Linked DNA regions of Homo sapiens: region 1 is linked to region 2. The links are contacts of gene promoters, found by promoter capture Hi-C in human tissues and cell types (Jung and others, 2019). All regions are on one chromosome and are shown on one strand. The core of a region is centred on a gene start or on the middle of the fragment in contact, and the rest is flanking DNA. Distances in the headings are between cores, read along the strand shown. Region 1 overlaps AXIN1 (axin 1). Region 2 holds the start of RAB40C (RAB40C, member RAS oncogene family).

Region 1 (3,026 bases), core at 249-2,748, 250 kb after region 2:
GCCTGGCTAATTTTTGTATTTGTGGTAGAGACAGCGTTTCGCCACGTTGGCCAGGATGGTCTCGAGCTCCTGGACTCCAGTGATCTCAGCCTCCCAAAGTGCTGGGATTACGGGTGGGAGCCACTGCACCTGGCTGGTTATTTTTTTTGCTTGTTTTTTTGTTTGAGATGGAGTCTCGCTCTGTCGCCCAGGCTGGAGTGCAGTAGTGCAATCTCAGCTCACTGCAACCTCTGCCTCCTGGGTTCAAGTGAGTCTCCTGCCTCAGCCTCCCGAGTAGCTGGGATTACAAGTGTGAGCTACCATGCCCAGCTAATTTTCTGTATTTTTAGTAGAGATGGGGTTTTACCACGTTGGCCAGTCTGGTCTCGAACTCCTTTCCTCAAGAGATCTGCCCGCCTCAGCCTCCCAAAGTGCTGGGATTCCAGGTGTGAGCCACTGCGCCCGGCCCCGGCTGGTTATTTTTAAGATGGGACTGAAGTTGAGGGCTGGGCTGCAGGAGGAAAATGAGCTCCGTTCTGATTTCCACTGTTGGAACCCCAGTGCCTCCCTCCCAGCCACTCTTCAGTTCTTGGCTGCGAGCAGTAGCTTTGCTGTCTGTCCTTGGTTTGCTGTATTTGTAATAAGGAACCTTTGCTATGAAATTAGTGGGATACATTGGCTTCTCCTGTCTAATTTTGTGTAGCTCTGTCTACACAGTTTGGGTCCTAACTTGACTGCTCTGGGGCTGCTGGTGGCAGAGGACCCTGGGGCTTGGGAGTCGTGTCTGCGGTTGAATCCTCTCTGTGGGAGGTGGCCTGTGGTGCAGCCTTGTGGCTTGAAGATCTCTGATGTTGGAATGGTTGCTTGTCAGCACAGACAGGGCATGAAGTCCAGGCTGCGTTCCTCACATTTAGACCATTCTCTTTGTCCTGCCAGGTGTAGGTGAGGGTGCACTAGGTTGGAAGTCGTGGAAACCCACCCACCTGAGCCCAACCCTGAAGGGCACTGTTGAGGCAGAGCCTCAGGTGTGCCTTAGGGCCTGGCACCTTTGCTTTGTGCCATTCTGACTTTGCCTGCCTGGTGGGCGACTTCGTGGGCTTTGTGTTGGAGGTGGCTGCTGCAGTGACCTTGGGCTCTGGGCTCCCTTGTTTACAGATGCTTCCCGCAGCTCTGACGGATGGGCCCGCTGTTGCTCTGAGGAGGGCACGTGTGCCGCTGTGTCCCGTCTGTCTCAGCACAGTCACGGTGCGTGCGCTGGGGGCTGTGCAGCAGGGTCACTCCTGAAGGAAAGTGGGTTCTCCACCCAGACAGACGGCTGCTCCCCAGTGGGGAGCTGGGGGCAGTCCTCCAAAGGAAGGCTGCGGGTAATGCAAAGGGAAAAGGAGAGTGGGTACTGAACAGGCGGCTGGTGAGCATTGCTACCACAGCAGGGCCTGGAGCTTAGGCCTCACGTGTTAGGGGATGCATATCCTGTGGAGAGCCGGTTAGTCGTCCCGGTGTGTCCGGAATTGGTGGGTTCTTGGTCTCACTGACTTCAAGAATGAAGCCGCGGACCCTTGCCGTGAGTGTTACAGTTCCTAAAGGCGGCCTGTCCGGAGTTTGTTCCTTCTGACGTTCGGAGGTGTTCGGAGTTTCTTCCTTCTGGTGGGTTCGTGGTCTCACTGGCTTCAGGAGTGAAGCTGCAGATCTTCGCGGTGAGTGTTACAGCTCATAAAGGCAGTGTGGACCCAAAGAGTGAGCAGCAGCAAGACTTACTGGAAAGAGAGAAAGAACAAAGCTTCCACACTATGGAAGGGGACCCGAGCGAGTTACCACTGCTGGCTCCCGCAGCCAGCTTTTATTCTCTTATCTGGCCCCACCCACATCCTGCTGATTGGTAGAGTCCAGTGGTCTGTTTTGACAGGGCGCTGATTGGTGCGTTTACAATCCCTGAGCTAGACACAAAGCTTCTCCACATCCTCACCAGATTAGCTAGATACAGAGTGTCCACACAAAGGTTCTCCAAGTCCCCACCAGAGTAGCTAGATACAGAGTGTCGATTGGTGCATTCACAAACCCTGAGCTAGACACAGAGTGCTGATTGGTGTGTTTACAAACCTTGTGCTAGATACAGAGTGCCGATTGGTGTATTTACAGTCCCTGAGCTAGACATAAAGGTTCTCCACGTCCCCACCAGAATCAGGAGCCCAGCTGGCTTCACCCAGTGGATCCCGCACCGGGGTTGCAGGTGGAGCTGCCTGCCAGTCCCGTGCCGTGCGCCCGCACTCCTCAGCCCTTGGGTGGTCAATGGGACCGGGCGCTCGTCGGGGAGACTCGGTCCGCACAGGAGCCCACGGAGGGGGTGGGGGGCTTAGGCATGGCGGGCTGCAGCTCCCGAGCCCTGCCCTGCAGGAAGGCAGTTAAGACCCAGCGAGAAATTGAGCGCAGCTCCGGTGGGCCGGCACTGCCGGGGGACCCAGCACACCCTCCGCAGCCGCTGGCCCGGGTGCTAAGCCCCTCATTGCCCGCGGCCGGCAGGGCTGGCCGGCTGCTCTGAGTGCCGGGCCCACCAAGCCCACGCCCACCCGGGACTCCAGCTGGCCTGCAAGCGCATGCAGCCGCGGTTCCCGCTCGCGCCTCTCCCTCCACACCTCCCCGCAAGCTGAGGGAGCCGGCTCCGGCCTTGGCCAGCCCAGAAAGGGGCTCCCACAGTGCAGTGGTGGGCTGAAGGGCTCCTCAAGTGCCACCAAAGTGAGAGCCCAGGCAGAGGAGGCGCTGAGAGCGAGCGAGGGCTGTGAGGACTGCCAGCACGCTGTCACCTCTCACCGGGGTGGAATTTGCGTGGAGGAACGTGCCAGGAGGGCCAGCCCTCGGGTGCTGACCCCTCTGTCCTGGAGGCTACTTTGCCTGCATCTCTGCCACAGTCGCTCATCCCCTGCGGTGGGGCTGCTGCGGTCCAGCACGGCCACAGGCATCCAGTTCCCCTGTGGGACGCCTGAGTGCGGGTCCTTGTTGGTCCGTGTGTGAGCCGCGTGGTGGTTTCACATACTTGATTTGAGGAAAGTGAA
Region 2 (2,972 bases), core at 219-2,718:
TTCTAGCACAAAGCGTTGACTCCCTCAGCAGTAAGCAAATACCTCAGGGGAACAGCGTGCCTATAAGGACCTGTCATCTGTGCACGCTCGAGACAGGGTCCCAAGAGCAGCCCAGCAGCACCTGCCACCAGACCTGGGTCCGTGACACCTTCCCCGGGCCCATGACACCTTTCCCCAGATCTATAACACCTTCCCTCGGACCCCAGATGATCCCAGACCCATGACACCTTCCCTTAGGACCATGATGCCTTCCCCCAGATCTATGACACCTTCCCTCAGACCCCAGATGATCCTAGACCCATGACACCTTCCCCTGAGATCCCAGACCATGACACCTTCCCTTAGGCCCATGACACCTTCCCCTGAGATCCCAGACCCATGACACCTTTCCCCAGATCTATGACACCTTCCCTCGGACCCCAGATGATCCCAGACCCATGACAGCTTCCCTTAGGACCATGATGCCTTCCCCCAGATCTATGACACCTTTCCTCGGACCCCAGATGATCCTAGACCCATGACACCTTCCTTTTGGCCCATGACGCCTTCTACCGGGACCATGACATCTTTCCCCGGACCCCAGATCCTGGACCCATGACACCTTCCCTCGGACCTATGACACCTTCTCCCAGACCCCAGATCCTGCACCCATGACACCTTCCCTCCGGCCCACGACACCTTCCCCCGAGCCCATGACACCTTCCCTCGGACCCCAGATGATCCTAGACCCATGACACCTTCCCCAGGCCCATGACACCTTCTCTAGGACCCATGACACCTTCCCCTGGGCTCCAGATCCCGGACCCATGACACCTTCCCCTGAGATCCCGGACCCGTGACACCGTCCCCCAGACCCCGGGTCCATGGCACCGTCCCCGCTGGGCGCGTCCCTCTGGTCCGTCCTCCTGCCCCCCGGCGTCACCTCGGGACTGGAGCACGGGCACCCCGCAGCCACCGAGCTACCGAGTCTGGAAGCCAGGCAAAGGCGTTCCTGGGAACGTTCGGCGGCGCTTGGAAGGGCCGGGCCGAGGGCGAGCTCCGTGCCCAGCTCGCCGGGCTCGGGCCCCGCGTAGCAGCGCGCGCCGCGGGCCGGGCCTTACCGTTACTGTAGGCGTACGGGGACTCTGCCGCGCCGTCCTGCAGGCTCTCCAGGATCTCGCCCTTGCCCACGTCGCTGTCGCCCACCAGCAGGAACTTGAGCAGGTAGTCGTAGCTCTTCACCGGACTGCCCTGCGAGCCCATGGCCGCGCCGCCTGCGCCCCGCGCCGGCCGCCTGCCGAAGCACCGCCGGGTGAGGCCGCGGCGTGAGAGAGCCCGCGCCCCGCACCTGCGCCCGTTGCGTCCGCCCCACGGCGGCCGAGTGGGCGCGCCCGAAGCCCAGCGCCGGCCCCGCCCCGCCCGCGCCCGGGCGCACCTCAGCCTCGCCGCCGCCCCGCCGCTTCCCGCACCACCAGGGCCGCCGCGCCGCCCCACCCCCGGCCGCGCCGCCGCCATTGGCCACCCTTCGCCCGCCCTCCCGAGCCCATTGGCCCACCCGCCCGTCCGTCACGACTTCCCCGCCCTCACGGCGTTCCACACGGCGCCGCCAGACCTCCGGTCGCACCGCCTCTTCACCACCCCGCCCTGCCTTCCCGTAGTCACCAGAGGTCGCCCGCCGCCCTCCTTCCCTCAGCCATTGGCCTGTCTGCACGTCTGTCATGACCGCCCCTCCCCCGCCTTTCCCACACGGCGTTGCGGAGACAGCGGACGCCTGCCTCATCGCCGTCGCCATTGGCCACTCGCCTCCTGCTTTCCCGGAACCATTGGTTCGATTATAAGTTCACCAAGATCATTCCCTTCCCTGCGGCTGCCTCCCAGAGAAATCCCAGAGCCGCCGGCCGCCCCGCCCCCGGCCCACAACGCCGTTGTCCTCGCCCGCCCCGTCGCCGGCGCCATTGGGTCGCTTGCATGTCCATCACGGCTCTGCTAACCCCGCCCCTTTCCTACACGCTCGCCAATCAGGGGCTCGGAAGTCCACGTTGTTTGTATCCGCCCCTTCAACGCGCGGACGGGCGGCAGGATGCAGGCGCGCCCGAGCCGAGGCGATGCGGCTGAGTCCGGGAAACGAAAGCCCCTCGCAGGCTGTGCCGCCTGCTTCCGCAGAACCCTCGGAGGGAGCGGCGGGGTGGCCCCGGGCGCGTCCTCTCTAAGGCGGTGCGGCCAATCGGCGCTCGATGAGGCGGAACTTCCTCTCCGGGGCAGGGGCGGGACTTCCGCCCGGCGGCGGCGGGGCGCACCGTTGGGTCACCAGTGAGTCTGCAAAGTCGCTGAGGTTCTGGGACAGCGCGGCGTCACCGAGCGTGAGCCTTCCGCCCGGGGACGCGGCCGCCACAGCTCGGGACGCGGGGAGCGCGGCCGGCGCGAGCTCAAGACCCGGCCCGACGTGCTCACTGCGGCAGCGGCGCCTCCTGGACGGGGACCCAGGGCCCGGACCGCGCTCTTCCCGGGGGCGCCGCCGAGCCCTCGTCCCTGCCGGGCCCGGCTGCCGCAGGTGCGTGGGCGAGCGAGGCGGCTGCGTCCGCGGGCCCCGGCGTGGGGTCGGGGGTTGAGTGGGCACGTGGTTCTTTCTGGGGTGACGAGAAGGTCCTACCGTCGTGGGGATGGTCCTGCCTCTCTCGGTGAAGTTACTCACTCGGAACGGGTGAGCTTTGTGATACGTGCTCTGCGTTCAGTAGCGCTGTTACAGTCGTAAGTAAAAGCAGTAACGTCAGCGCCGACCCAGCGCAGCCCTCTCCAGACCGGGTGCGGAGCCCGTCACGTCTGCCCCGCCGGCGAGGAGCAGAGCCCGGCAAGAACCCTCCTCCAGAGGGGCCCCGACCAGGGCTGTGCCTCCGGGAGCAGGTGCTGCTTACACAGAGGGACGCCAGGACGGGCAGCCCCACACCTCCAGTGACCTCCCGTCCCCCAGAGCTGAAGACATGGCCTGACTAAGC

What was found. Contacts are between HindIII fragments. The study calls those that stand out against the background at their distance.
Region 1: a contact is called between a fragment that was not itself captured here and the fragment with the promoter of RAB40C in region 2, in 2 of the 25 tissues and cell types used here (IMR-90 fibroblasts and dorsolateral prefrontal cortex).

The regions. Positions count from the first base shown.
Region 1 is chr16:340,841-343,866 of GRCh38, reverse strand. All of the region lies in intron 2 of AXIN1 (axin 1), which reads left to right. Among named protein-coding and RNA genes, the nearest start is that of AXIN1, 10 kb to the left of the region's middle. RefSeq lists an enhancer at 1,851-2,402. The HindIII fragment of the contact is 5,555 bases long and covers 1-3,026 here.
Region 2 is chr16:588,562-591,533 of GRCh38, reverse strand. RAB40C (RAB40C, member RAS oncogene family) reads right to left here and starts at 1,468. Exons shown (of 6, transcript NM_021168.5): 1 at 1,101-1,468. The coding sequence starts at 1,242. RefSeq lists silencers at 1,258-1,577, 1,668-1,787, 1,858-1,907, 1,918-1,977, 2,298-2,607 and enhancers at 1,952-2,825, 2,948-2,972. The HindIII fragment of the contact is 16,228 bases long and covers 1-2,972 here.